2 separate regions of the Homo sapiens genome follow, and region 2 is linked to region 1. The links are contacts of gene promoters, found by promoter capture Hi-C in blood cells and fetal thymus (Javierre and others, 2016). All regions are on one chromosome and are shown on one strand. The core of a region is centred on a gene start or on the middle of the fragment in contact, and the rest is flanking DNA. Distances in the headings are between cores, read along the strand shown. Region 1 holds the start of LINC00466 (long intergenic non-protein coding RNA 466). Region 2 overlaps ITGB3BP (integrin subunit beta 3 binding protein).

What was found. The method cuts DNA at HindIII sites, captures the fragments that hold promoters and counts their contacts. A CHiCAGO score of 5 or more calls a contact.
Region 2: a fragment that was not itself captured here is called in contact with the fragment with the promoter of LINC00466 in region 1 in 1 of 17 cell types (monocytes); the score reaches 7.1 in monocytes.

What each region holds. Positions count from the first base shown.
Region 1 is chr1:63,312,839-63,320,163 of GRCh38, reverse strand. LINC00466 (long intergenic non-protein coding RNA 466) reads left to right here and starts at 2,907. Exons shown (of 12, transcript NR_038252.3): 1 at 2,907-3,106; 2 at 4,077-4,215. RefSeq lists a silencer at 2,582-2,761. The HindIII fragment of the contact is 23,330 bases long and covers 1-7,325 here.
Region 2 is chr1:63,514,535-63,521,859 of GRCh38, reverse strand. All of the region lies in intron 1 of ITGB3BP (integrin subunit beta 3 binding protein), which reads left to right. It overlaps LOC102724319 (a long non-coding RNA gene), which reads right to left. Exons shown (of 3, transcript XR_426701.4): 3 at 4,066-4,104. Among named protein-coding and RNA genes, the nearest start is that of ITGB3BP, 5.0 kb to the left of the region's middle. The HindIII fragment of the contact is 5,782 bases long and covers 1,775-7,325 here.

The sequences.
Region 1 (7,325 bases), core at 1,658-4,157:
CCTTGGAACCTCCCTGGGGAAGGGGGTGGAGGACGAACAACTCCCAGCTGCCGGTTCCATTTGTTGCGCTTTTTTCCTTCGACACAATAAAAGTCAAATTAATTGATTCATACCATTAATTACGGCGCGTAGCGTGAAAAGCAACGCTTCCCCTCGGTTAGAGATCTATTGTGCTAATCTCTTGTTCAATCAGTGTTACCATCTGATGCTGGGTCCGGCCCTTACAGAAACTTTTCGACTCGATTAGCTAAATGATGAGACGTGCACAACCTACTGGCTGCGGCCCCGACGTCCCGCGCCCGCGCCGGCCTAATATCGATTTCCAGCGGAGGCAGAGGATTTTTCCGCGGCCGCTCTCGGCTCAGGAACCGGCCGCCGGCTTTCTCCCTCCAGGCGGACCATAGCGCCTGCACAACCTCCGGGGGCGGGAAGGAGGCGAAGCGGCGGCCGGGGAGGGCGACAGGAAGGTTCCTGCTGGCCTTGACGCAGGAGGCCGCCCCAGCGGAAGGGTCCGATCCCGACGCGGTGCAGGGTCCTGCCGGAGACCGGCTAGATGTCGGGCTAAATAAATTGTTTGCCGCGTAGTTGCAGTTTGCAGCTAAAAGCTCACAGGTCGTCAGTTACCGCCAAGCTGTAGGACAGAGACGGAAGAAGCGAGACAGATACAGAGAGAAAGTGAGACACATGTAGTGGGGGGAAGAAAATGTGATAAAGGGTGTATGTGGATAAAAAGTTTCTGAGTCTCAAAGGGTTATTGGAGAGATAGAGGGAGAATGAGTAGACACACACACGCAATTATGAGTTTGAGTGACTCTTTGAGTCTCAACAAGCGAACTTCCCAGGAGAGATTTAAAAAGGAAGATGGCAGCCAGCTGCCTCACCTGCTCAAATGTTTGAAATGTTTCAACCAAAGGAGAATGGAATGAAACCCCTTCGGTTCCTCTGGAGCGGGCAGAGTACATGGTACCCCGCTGGGAAAGCCACCTGGACGCGGTGGGAATGAGGGGTGCGGGGAGTGGGGATCTAGGTTCTAGCAACAGGAGGCAAGAAGAATGGAGTCCGGATCGATAGGAAGGAAATTGAGACGTCTCCAGGGGAGGGGAGATTTAGTGTGTGCGTCCAGTGGGGGGATGGGGGGGAAGAAATGGATAGAAAAATTTATGATGGAGAAAGGGAAATTAATTACAGCTCATTTTGGGTTCTTAGGTGGTCAACACTGGAGGAGGGGCACGGTTAGAGTGCGGAAGGCGGGAATTGCCCACCTACCCCTCACCAGGCCCAAGTGAACCCATATGCCTCTTTTCTCCTCTTTTAAGTCAGAGACAGTGCCAGTGGCTTGAATAAGTCGTTGGCGCGATGTGAGATAGAATCATCATGCCCGCGCGCGGGTGCACTTTTCTTACAATACGGGGAGTTGGGACCAGGTTCCGCGGAGTGAAGGGCGCGTCCCCCACCAAGAGTAGTTACTCTTTGTCCAAGAGGGAGCAAAACGTGGGTGGGACTATTAGAAAAATTCCCCTCCTTTCTCCCCAACACCCCCGCGCCCGCAACAATCAAAGTCTGCTGCTTCTTGAAAATCTTCATAGATTTGTTAAACTATTACCGGCCTCTTTGTCTGGATGGCCGCCACCAAGGAAGGTGGGAAAGGGCAGAGGTGGTACCCAAGGCCCCAACCCACCCAGATTACTTCCATTTCCCAAAGCGGGGGATTTTCAACTCTCTTACCCACCACTACCCCCTTGTATACCTCTCCGGATCTTTTCGGGGTGGAAAAAAAGAGGCTATTTTAATGTTCTTGTTTGGATTTGCATCTCAAAACTTCATTTATTTTCAAGATGTCTGCCACTCAGGGTCCACGCCAAGGCGTGCCTGTAAATGGCGAGAGACCAAAAGGAAAGGAGGAGAGAAAGAGGAAGAGAGAGAGGATGGTTTCGAATTTATTTATATTGGAAATATATAAACATCCATTCTGTAAAAGGCAACACGTTTAATTAACGATGAGAGAGCAGTTAGGGGCAGAAAGCTAGTAAAATTGTGTGATAAATTTATGGCATTGTTAGCGTGCTTTTAATTATGGCTATTATGTTAATTATTTCACATTAGCATGGAGTTATCAGCAGCATGTCGGATTTAATAAAAACGAGCCTTTCTCTCGAAAATTGTTCTTTTCATCCACGAGGAGAAAGGTCCTGGACAGGATCGGGGCTTAAAAATGACTTGGCATTGAAAGCCGGAGTCTTTCTGACACCGTTTGGAGCGATGCGGCCAGGCCCGGCTGTCCGCTGGGTCCCTCCAGGCTACCGGCAGCTCGAGGAGGAGCCCAGGGCTGGGTTTTTAGGAATTCACCATTTTCACCCCCTTCGGAGCCGACACTTCATCATGCGAGATCATTCTGTCAAACAATATGATGCTGCTCATTTTTATCTGTCCCGCTTTACAAAATCCCCATTCAGCCGGCCGAGGAGCAACAAAAGCCTCTGAGCAGCTCCGCAGCCACTGGCGGCCACAGCCTCCCCGGCGCGCGAGAAAGGCGAGAGGGGCCGAGGAAAGCAGGCGGCGGGCGCGCGCCCCTCTCCGCCGGAGGGAACGCTGCCTGCCGGGGCCTGCCAGCCCAGGTGTCGGGTCCTCGGGTGTGGCCCGGGCGGGACACGCCTCCCTCAGGCCCGCGCCCGCCCTCGGCCTCCCTGCAGGCGCCGGGCGAAAGCCCCCAATCCCTCCCCTCAAGCGACTCGCCCACCCAGGCCACATCGATTCTTTAATCACCGCCGATCGATTTATTGGGAGCAAATAAATAGACCGTTTTGGAAACGTTTCAATTGCTGGCTTGACGGTTGGGGCGCTGACGCGGGAGGGCGGGCAGGGCCGTGGGGCGCGCGCGGGAAGGGACTTGTGGGAAGGAAGGGAGCGGAAAGGCCGAGCGCCACCCGCCCCGGGAGTCTCCAGAGCAGCGCGCGGGGCAGACCTCCTCGGGTCCTCCGGCGCTTCGGTCTCCGGAGACGCCCGGCCTCCTGAAGGGTTCGGCTTGTCCTCCTCTGGCGCTCAGCTCCCTCTGGCGGCCGGGCTGGCAGGACCTCAGCGCCCAGCCCTTCCGTCTTGTTACGTCCAGGCAAGTTGGCCTGGCTTTCGGATGCCTCTGGACAGTCCCCGTCCAGGCCCGCGACCCAGCCCGAATGGAGGCCCCGGGGCCCACAGAGCGCGGCCTCCCAGGCCTTCCAGCCCTGGCTGCGGACGCCGCAGCCTTCTCGCCCCTGGGCCGGACGCGGCCTTCCTGCCCAAGACCACTGGGGCCCCCGCCCCTCCCGGGACAGGGCTGTGGACAGGCCAGCTGCTGCCTTATTTTTAGCGCCATTCCATTCGCGCGGTTATATTTAACTCGACCCACTCCTCCGAGGAGGTCGCTCGGACATCGAATTCTCCACATCGCAGCTTGGGCCTGCCCGCCTTGCCTCAGGGGTAGTTCCTCAAGGGACAGATTGGAAAACCCCTGCTTAAGAATCCTTGACATATCTGGAGCTTGGAGAGGACGGGACTGGGGGAGAGATCTGGTTCTAGGGGCAGTGGCCACCGCGCCTGCAGTGCACTGCGTGGGGATTCCGCCTTGTGTGGGGCGGGGGAGGGGAGGAAGGGACAGGATCAGTCCTGTGGGAAGGATTCTCTGCGGGGAGTATTGTGTCCATTTCCTACTTCTGCATGACTCAGAACACTAGGTGACCTGGAAGACCTCTCACGACCCTGCCCTTGGAAAAGTTTATCATTTAGCGTGAGTGCAGGAATCCCCTCTTCTCTACCCTCCAGTGCACCCAACGGGATATTTGATTTCAATGGTATGTTAGCTCCTTAGTTCCAGCCCAGTCTTCCCTTGGCAAAATCTTAAAAAGACCATGCCAAAGGCTCACTCACATCCTGGGGAAAGGACCCACTTGGATAACATACGGAAACACCATTGTGATACACGCTTTATTCACACAGAATGTCAGTTAGCAAACAATGCAGAAGTCATGTACTAAAGGTACACTAACAGATGTGACATGGATCGCGGATATCGAAACACATTTTTTTGTTTTTCTTTGAGACAGGGTCTCACTCTGTGTCTCAGGCTGGAGTACAGTGGTGCAATTGTAGATGGCTGCAGCCCTCGACCTCCTGGGCTCAAGTGATCCTCCTGCCTTAGCCTCTCGAGTAGCTGGGAGTACAGATGCACACCACCACACCCAGGTAATTTTTTATTTTTATTTTTTGTAGAGATGGGATCTCGCTCTGTTGCCCAGGCTAGTCTCAAGCTCTTGGCCTCAAACGATCCTCCCACCTCAGCCTCTCAAAGTGCTGGGATTAAAGGTGTGAACCATCCTGCCAGGCCAAAACACATTTTAAAAATTTAAATTCTTCTAACATTTTTAAAGAAACAAGTTTTCCTTGGGTCAAAGCTGCCTTTTTTGGTAACTCTCATTTTAATCCAAAATTTCTTGGATTTAAGTCATACCCACAGCTGAATTCAGGGGGAGAGGATATATAAGTATACAATATATATTTATTTACTCATTTATTCCTTATTAGTAATTTATTGAACTGTTGTAGACCTGGAAAGTACCAGGAATGAAAAGAAGAATTAAACCCAAGGTTCCTTAAGGAAGAACCAGGCAAGAGAATCAGTGTTTGTCATGCAGGTTGATAGGTGCCATGGCAAGGGGAAACAGCGCAGAGGAGGGCCTTTCTCACTGGGTAGGGATAGAGAAAGTGTGAAGCCTTCAATACGGAAGATGCTACTGACCAGCTACCTCTGACTTTAGGGGTTTTCAGGGGAGATTGGGGAGAAGTAAGTTAGAACCCGGGATACTTTGGGAAAAGAAAGTGCTAAGTTGGATGCCTAATGGTACTTCTGGACAGCCAGAAAGTACTTGGTCTCAAGGGAAATGGACAATAGATGTATGATAAGGAAACAGAAAGGGATGGAAGAAGAGAGAAGGGAAATGTAAAAATTGAAATTTGCTTAGACATTTTGTCTAGGTATAGTACATTTAGACTACATGGAAGTATTTGACTAACAAACACATGGAAGAAATTTAAAAGGGAACGTAGATAAAGGAAAAGATCCTTTGAAAAGAAAATATTCAAAAGGCTAGTTGTTAGACCCAGCTGTTTTTCTAACCTTATCGTATTCATCAAGGGCCAGACACTGGAACCACAAAGGTGAGTAAGAAGATAGATTCCACCTTTAGAATGTTAATTCCAGAAGGGCAGGAATTTTTATCTGTTCACTGTTGTATCCCTAGCCTCCAGCCAAGTACTAGTGGTGTAGGGGTGGAGGTGTGGCTCAATAAATATTGCTTGAATAACCCGATCAGTAAGACACATTCTCACTCTAATGGGGGACTTATTCAGGGAAGTCCATAGCTAAAATGTAGTGTGATGAGTTATAAATATATGATAGAATGTTACAGGAGCGCAAAAGAAACATAACTAACTCTGCCTGGGAAAGAGAATAGGTGGGTAGGAAGGTTTCCCTAAGAAATAATACTTGAACTGTCCGGCGCGGTGGCTCACGCTTGTAATCCCAGCACTTTAGGAGGCCGAGGCGGGCGGGTCACGAGGTCAGGAGATCGAGACCACAGTGAAACCCCGTCTCTACTGAAAATACAAAAAATTAGCCGGGCGTGGTGGCCGGCGCCTGTAGTCCCAGCTATTCGGGAGGCTGAGGCAGGAGAATGGCGTGAACCCGGGGGGCGGAGCTTGCAGTGAGCAGAGATTGCCCCAATGCACTCCAGCCTGGGCTACAGAGCGAGACTCCGTCTCAAAAAAAAAAAAGGAAATAATATTTGAGCTGTTGTGAATGATAAGCAGCAGTTAGGTAAAGAAAAAGAGGAACAGAGTTCTGGGAAAAGAAAGAGAACACAGCACGAGTAAAGACACAGATTTATGCAAGACACGAGGAGCAGCATATAGTTTGGTTTAACTGAAATGAGATAAGGGAATGGCCAGAGTAAAATAATAAAGACTCTTGAATACTGGGCTGAAGAGCCCAAAGTTATTAAGAAGCCAGTAAAGTCTTTAACTGATTGGCATGATTGAAATAAAATTTTGGAACTATTCTTTGCGGGAATGTGAAGGATAAACTGAGGGAGTAAAAGACTGGAGATAGCAAGGAGGCTATTTCGTTATCTTAGTAAGAGATGAAGAAGGTATGATTTAAATTATTGGCAGTGAGACTGGAGAAGAGGAGATGATGATGACTTTGAGAGGACTGAAGAAGTAAAATGGATGGAACTAAGTGTCTGATTGCTAAGGGAGAAAGATTTCACAGTAACTCCCAGATATGAAATTTGCATGTCTAGAAGAAATGGTGTTATCATCAATTGAGGAGACTACAGATGGAGAAACACTCTCTAGTCCCTTGTTCCTCAGTCATAGACATGACTACTCAAATTATTTCCTTAAATGTCAGTTGGAGCACGCCAGTCACTCCTCTGATCAAAAACATTTAATGCACATTGAGCATGATGGCTCATGCCTGTAATTCCAGCACTTTGGGAGGCTGAGGCAGGAGGATCGCTTGAGCCAGCAGTTTGAGACCAATCTGGAAAACATAACAAGACCCTGTCTCTACAAAAAAGTAAAAAGTTAGCTGGGCATGGTGGTGCATGCTCATGGTCCCAGCTACTTGGGAGGCTGAGGCAAGAGGCTTGATTGAGCCCAGGAGGTTGAGGCTGTAGTGATCTATGATCCTGCCACTGCACTTTAGCCTGAGAGATAGAGACCTTGTCTCATACAAAACAAAACAAAAGCAAAACTGTTTAATGCTACCTCATTGCTTGTAGAAGAAAACCCAAACCCTTTAGTAAGATACTTCAGGTGTGCCATAATCTGGCTCCAATATACCTTCTAGTTTCCTTTGCACTCCATGCCCCTGACCTATGGGACTATAATGCATTTCCAGGACACACTGTGGCCTCCGTCCTTTACCAGTTATATGACCTTGGGTAAGTTCCTTAAACTCTCTGTGCCTCATATCCTTACTTGTAAAATGGAGATAATGGCATCTTCCTTATGGGGTTTTTGTAAGGATTAAGGACATCCAAATCACTTAGAATAGAGTTGGCACATAGTTAAGGATCACTCAAAAAATTTTCTTAATTGATTGTAATGCTTTTCCCTGTTTTTTTATTTTTTATTTATTTTTATTTTAATTTTATTAAGAGACATAGTCCCAGCCTTCTAGGAATTTTCAGTTTACTTGTGAAGAGTAAGAGAGGCAGATGTTGTAAGCCCTTGAAGGTAGAGACTGAGAGGCTTAGATTTTTTCTTTTTTCTTTTTTTTTTTCCTGAAAGTG
Region 2 (7,325 bases), core at 3,416-5,915, 200 kb before region 1:
TCCTGAACTGTGTGTATCTGTGTATAGGAGTGGGGAACCAAAAAACTATGAAAAGTGGAACTTTTTTTTTCTTTTTTTGAGGCAGAGTCTGGCTCTGTTGCCCAGGCTGGAGTGCAGTGCTGTGATCACAGCTCACTGCAGCCTCTACCTCCTGGGCTCCCACATGCCACCATGCCTAATTTTTTTATTTTGTAAAGACAGTGTCTCCCTGTGTTGCCCAGCCTGGTCTTGAAGTCCTGGGCTTAAGTGATCCTTCCACCTCAGCCTCCCAATGTGCTGGGACTATAGGAGTTAGCCACTGTGTCAGGCCTAAAAGTGGACCTTTTTGACAACTGTCTTCCTAACATATGCACACAAGATGTTATATTAGGCTTTTAGATAAGTATATTCTGGTAATAAATACACAACCTTAAAGTTGAGGTTAACATCTCACATATATAGCTAATATATATGTGAAACTAGCAATTACTTTGCTAATTTTCTAAGTTTTAGCAAAGTGATTTAAGACTAAATCAACAGTTAAGTAATGCATAAAACGTAATGGCATGTTAGTAGAGAATCTCCATCATTGTTAGTAAATTAAGTGTTTTTTTTTTTTTTAATGTGGTTACTGGTGAGGTCATAAATGAGTGGTGCAAATAGTTATCTTGGCAAGTTACATATGCAGGTGGATTCATTTTTAAGTGATGTTGAAATGGTGACTATTTGGTATGTATTTGGAAGACTAAATGTGTAATATAACTTACGGGAGGGTGTGATCTATCTTTTTTCTAATTTCTTAGAACCTTGAGCAGAAAAAACTTCAATACAACAATGAGTAGTTGTGAAAATATATATGGTCCAAATGAATCTAAAATAAATAAGAAACAGCAAATGTTCAGTGACAATAGAGCGGATGGATGAATCTTAACATAATGAGTGAAATAACCAATTTGTATGAGACTACATTTGTTATCCTTATAAAACTTAAGAACACGCAAAAATAAGCTACTTATGGTTATATATGTATATGATAAGATTATTGTTAAAAGGCAGAGAAATGATAAATACAGAGAAATGATAAATACAGTTTAATAGATGCCTTTTGGGGGAAGCAAATAGATGCATGTATACCCAGTCATATTGGTAATGATCTAGTTCTTAAATTATGTGGTGAGTTTATGCGTGCTTATTTTCTAATGTTTTATAACTTGCACAGCTTACATTTTTTCATTAGTATCCATTATTCATTAGTATTACATTTATTCATTTAGTATGTACTACTTAAAATGTTTTTTAAAAGGATTTAGAGATTACCTATCTTAAGTCCTCCCTAAGTGTAGCTTTCTCTGCCTTCTCTTTGATCCTTTGGAGGAAACAGATGAATTAGATAAATGCTGCTGTTGGTTTCATTAGGCTAATCATCTTCCCTTCCAATCTTGCTCCTCTTTCTGTGTACATTCTGAAATTAGTGGCACAGTCATTTCTCTATCTAGGTTGAAACCTTCACTTTTTAAAGATTTGAAGTGGAAAAATCATGGACTTTGGAGTAAGACAAACCAGGATTTGAATCTTGAGTCTGTTAACCAGCTGTGTGCTCCTTAGATTGTTACTCAGTGTCCTCATTGATAAAATAGTTGCTCAATAAGTATTTATTAATTGAATGATAAAGTTGCTACTTTGGAAAGATTTCATTCTATGTAGACAGATACATGTCTTTTTAGTAGCTCTTGCTGTAAGTAATCAAATCCCATTCTAGACCTTTTTTCTTCTTCTACCTTTTCTTTATAAAGCTTCCTTTAAAAAGTACCATTTGTTTAGTCTTGCTAATTAGTGTACATCATCATGCTAATTCAGCCAAAGATACTCTCTACCAGAGTTAACTTTATTCTGTTCCAAGCTATGACTGAACTAAAGCTATAAAGTTGGAATAGCATTAGTGTTGTAGAAAAACTATTCGTAACAGTAACAGTGGGGGCCATTCTGCTGCTGTATTTATAGTCTGAGAGTTTTCTGAGAGAACTTTAAAATGTGCTATATTTTTTCCAAGATAAGGGAAAATGAATATAAACATATTCTGGATCTTTATTGTGCCTATATGCTGTAATCATTTTGATGCTACTGCCAGGTACAATGATTTTTATTTTGTGGGTTGATTATAAAGAAGTAGGTGGGTGGAATGATGTGTCAGGCCAAGTAAAAGTTAACCATTAAATAAACATCCTTTGAATTATAGTAGATATTCAAAGTTATATAATTTCTTTTATAAATAAAGTGTCCTGCATTTTAAAAGAAGATTGGTGAAATTTTTAGTACTTGATATAAGAAAAATATGAAATTTAAATGCAATTCTTTCCTGCTTGTAAAAGTCAGTAAAGTCTAATAGAGGAAGGTATAATAGAGCCTTTTTGGCTGAGCGTGGTGGCTCTCACCTGTCTATTTAACTTAGAATTTTTTGACTTCATAATAGTGTGAAAGCAATATGCATTCAGTAGAAACTACTTTAAGTACCCATACAACCATTCTTTTCTTTACTTTCAGCACAATATTCAATAAATTACATGAGATGTTCAACACTTTATTTTAAAAGAGATTTTGGGTTAGATGATTTACCCAACTATAAGTTAATTTAAGAGTTCTCAACATGTTTAAGCTGTGATGTTCAGTAGGTTAAATGTGTGAAATGCATTTTCAACTAACATTTTCAATTTACAATGGGTTTGTTGTAACATAATCCTGTTGTAAGTCAAGGAGCATCTATATATTTTTTGCTTGCAACTTCTTAAAAAGGTGAGAATGTTTAAAGCAAAAATTAAACACTATTATGGGGTTATATGTAGACATAATATATATGATACCAGTGGCACAAAGTGTAGAGGGAGTTGACTATAATGTTGCAAGATTCTTCTCTTTTACATGAAGTAGTACTGTATTATTATAACTCTAGATAGACTGTGGTATGTTAAAAAGGCATACTGTAATCCCCAGAGTAACCTCTGAAAATGCAGAGAGGCATACCTAAAAAACAAATAGAGGAATTGAAATGATATATTTAAAAATAATGTTAATTCAAAAGAAGGCAGGTAAAAAAGAACAAAGGAACAAAAACAGATGGGACAAATAGAAAACAACTATCTAAATGGTAGCCCCAACCAGATAATTACAAGTTTAAGTGCAGTAAAGACATCAGTGAAAAAGGTAGAGAATATTATAAGGCTAGATTTTTTTTTAAAGCAAGTCCTAACTCTTTACTGTCTATAAGCAACAAAGTTGAAAGTTAAAAAAAAAAAAGAAAGAAAAGAAAGGGAAAGGTAGATATAACAGTCTAACAGGAGAGAAACCAAATGATCAATATCCAGAATGAAAGGGTAAATTGTACTTAGATGAAAGAGAACATAAACTATCAATATCCAAAATGAAAGAGCAGAATACCACTAAAGATGCTATAGATATTGAAAGAGGTAATATCATTAAAGCCTTTATTCCAGTAAACTTGACAACTTATACAAAATTGACAAATTCCTTGAAAAATACAACTTAGCATGATGGCATAAGATGATACAGAAAATCTGCATAATTAAGGAAATAGAATTTGTTACTAAGAATCTTCCCACAAAGACCCAGACGATTTCATTGGTTAATTGTACAGAGAACATACCCATTCGTGAGAAAATAAAACCCTCAGCAAACTAGGAATAGGAGGCAACTTCTCATTTCTTTGAAAAACCTATAGATAATATATTTAGTATCGAAAACTTTTTTAAGATTAGGAAAAAGGCAAGAACGTGCCCTCTCACCACTTCTATTCAAAAAAGCACACACAGAAAAACACCCATAGTGTTAAAAAGGAAAAAGTGGGGCCAGGCCCAGTGGCTCATGCCGGTAATCCCATCACTTTGGGAGGCTGAGACAGGCAGATTGCTTGAGCCCAGTAGTTCAAGATTAGCCTGGGCAATATGGCAAAACGCTGTCTCTACGAAAAAATATGAAAATTAACAAGGTGTGACGTTACGTGCCTGTAGTCCCAGCTACTTGGGAGGCTGAGGCAGGAGGATCACTTGAGCCGAGGAAGTCAAGGCTGCAGTGAGCTGTGATTGTGTCACTTGCATTCCAGCCTGGATGACCCTGTCTCAAGACAAACAAAAACAACAACAACAAAAAAGGAAAAAGTAAAATTAATGATTCAACAATGACATCATGTATGAAGAAAATCCTAAAAAATCTATAAAACAATTTTCAGAACAATTTAGCAAGGATGTAGGATGCAAAATCAGTGTACAAAGATCAATATATTTCTATATTTCAGGAATAAACACCTGGAAATTGAAGTTTAAGATTTTTCATTTATAATTACATAAAAACATATAATAATTTAGCATAAGACATGCAAGACCTCTACAGTGAAAATTACAAAATGTTCCTTAGAGAAATTAAAGATGAAGATAAATGAGAGTATTTTTATTTATTTTTTATTTATTTTTATTTATTTTTATTTTTTTATTATTATACTTTAAGTTTTAGGGTACATGTGCACAATGTGCAGGTTAGTTACATATATATACATGTGCCATGCTGGTGAGAGTATTTTTAAGTGATAAATGTGGTATTATTAAAATGTTAGTTCTCACCAATGTTTAGATTTAATGCAATCCCTGTCATAATCCTAACAAACATTTCTTTTTAAGTTTTGCTCTTTTTTTATTTCTACTGTTTAAAATGGATCTTTTTTAAAAAAAGTTAAGTGGATGAAAACTTGTATAATAGTATTTGGTATTATCTTTATCTTTTCTGTTTTATATTTCATTTTTCATGTAATCTAATTTTCCTTCTTTGTACTTTCTTTTTTTGAGTATGATCATTTATACCTAACTTATTTGTTTTTATTTTTTATAGACTCAGGGTGTATATGTGCAGATTTGTTACAAGGATATATTGCATAATGGTGAGGTTTGAGCTCGTAGGTGCCCATCACACAAATAGTGAACATTGTACCCGAAAGATAATTTTTCAACCCTCACCTTCCTCCCATACTTCCTCCTTTTGAAGTCTCAGTGTCTATTATTTCCCTCTGTATGTTCATATGTACCCATTGTTTAGCTCCCACTAATAGATGAGAACATGTGGTATTTGCTTTTCTTTTTTTTTCTTTTTTCTTTTTTTTTTTTTTTCATGAAACAAGGTCTTACTCTGTCACCCAGGCTGGACTGCAGTGGCATGAACATGGCTCACTGCAACCTTCACCTCCTGGGCTCAAGTGATCCTCCTGCCTCAGCCTTCCAAGTAGCTGGGACTACAGGTGTACACCACCACACTGGCCTAATTTTTAATTTTTTTGTAAAGACAGAGTCTCATTGTGTTGCCCATGTTGATCTCAAACAATCCTCATGCCTTAGCCTCCTAAAATGCTGAGATCACAGGTGTGAGCACTGCCACACCCAGTTGATTTTCTTTGCTTTCCTTTCCTCTTTTTTCTCTTGTTTTCTTTCTTTTCTTTCCTTTTCCCTTCCCCCCCCCTTCTCCCCCACCTTCCCCCGCTCCGCTTCCCTTCCCCTCCCCTCTCCTCTTTTTTTTTTTTTTTTTTTTTGAGACATGGTCTTGCTCTGTCACCCAGGCTAGAGTGCAGTGGTGCAGTTTGCTCACCACAACCTCTGCCTCCCAGGCTCACTCTGGACTCAAGCAATCTGCTCAGCTCAGCCTCCCAAAGTGTTGGGATTACAGATGTGAGCCACCATGCCTGGCCTAATTTTCTGCTTCTGAGTTATTCCAGTTAAGATAATGATTTCCAGCTCTATTCATGTTGTTGCAGAACAACACGGTATCATTCTTTTTTATGGCTGCATAGTGTTCCATGGTGTATATATACCACATTTCTTTATCCAGTCATCCATTGATGGACACAAGATGATTCCATGACTTTGCTGTTGTGAATAGTGCTACAATAAATGTACAAGTACATTTGTCTTTTTGATATAATGATTTATTTTCCTTTGATAGATACCCAGTAGTGTGGTGGTTGCTGGGTAGTTCTTTTTTTTTTTTTTTTTTTTTTTTTTTTAAGTTGGAGTCTTGCTCTGTTGTCCAGACTGGAGTGCAGTGGTGCAATCTTGGCTCACTGCAACCTCCGCCTCCCGAGTTCAAGTGATTCTCCTGTCTCAGCCTCCTGAGTAGCTGGGACTACAAGCATGCACCACCATGCCTGGCTAATTTTTGTATTTTTAGTAGAGATGGGGTTTCACCATATTGATCAGGCTGGTCTTGAACTCCTGACCTTGTAATCTGCCCACCTCAGCCTCCCAAAGTCCTGGGATTACAGGCGTGAACCATCGTGCCTGGCGTTGAATGGTAGTTCTATTTTTAGTTCTTCAAGCAAACGTTTTTTAGAAATTGAAAACTGATTTCAAAATTTGTATGGAAAGGCAAGTGACTTGCAGTAGCCAAAACAATTTTGAAAAAAAAGAATGAAGTTGGAGTATGTACACTAACTAGACATGGCATAAAGTGTTGGTAATGAACTCAATGTGGTTTGGGCATATAGAGAAATAGGTAAATAGAATAGAATAGAAAGTCCAGAAATAGACCCACAAAGGTACCAAAGCAGCTCAGTGGGGATAACAGAAGATTTTCTTCCCAAGTGGTGCTGGCATACCCAGTGGGGAAAAAAACAAAACACCTTGACCTTCACCTTATATTACATACAAAAATTAATTTGAGATACATTTTAGTCCTAAATGTAAAAAGGAAAGTTTCTGGAGGGAAATATTTGAGAATATTTTTACAGTCTGAAGTAGGTGAAATTTCAGGCAAGACGCGGAAAGCAATAATTATAAAAGAAAAAATGATAAATTATGCTTCATCTAACTTTTAAACTTTTGCTCATCAAGAGATACCGTTAAAAAAAGTAAATTTTCTGTTTTTCTTTTTTTTTTTTTTTTTTTTGAGACAGAGTCTCGCTCTGTCACCAGGCTGGAGTGCAGTGGCACGATCTTGGCTCACTGCAACCTCCGTCTCCTGGGTTCAAGCGATTCTCCTGTCTCAGCCTCCCGAGTAGCGGGGACTACAGGTGTGCACCACCACACCCAGCTAATTTTTGTATTTTTAGGAGAGATGGGCTTTTACCATGTTGACCAGGATGGTCTCAGTCTCTTGACCTTGTGGTCTGCCCACCTTGGCCTCCCAAAGTGATGGGATTAGAGGTGTGAGCCACCATGCCCAGCCAAAAAAAGTAAATTTTCAAACAACTGACTGGGAGAAAGTATGTAACAGATATATATCAGACAAAGGATTTATATTTAGGATAAGAAAGAACTCTTACTAATCAACAGTAGAAAGACAAAAATGTTATTAAA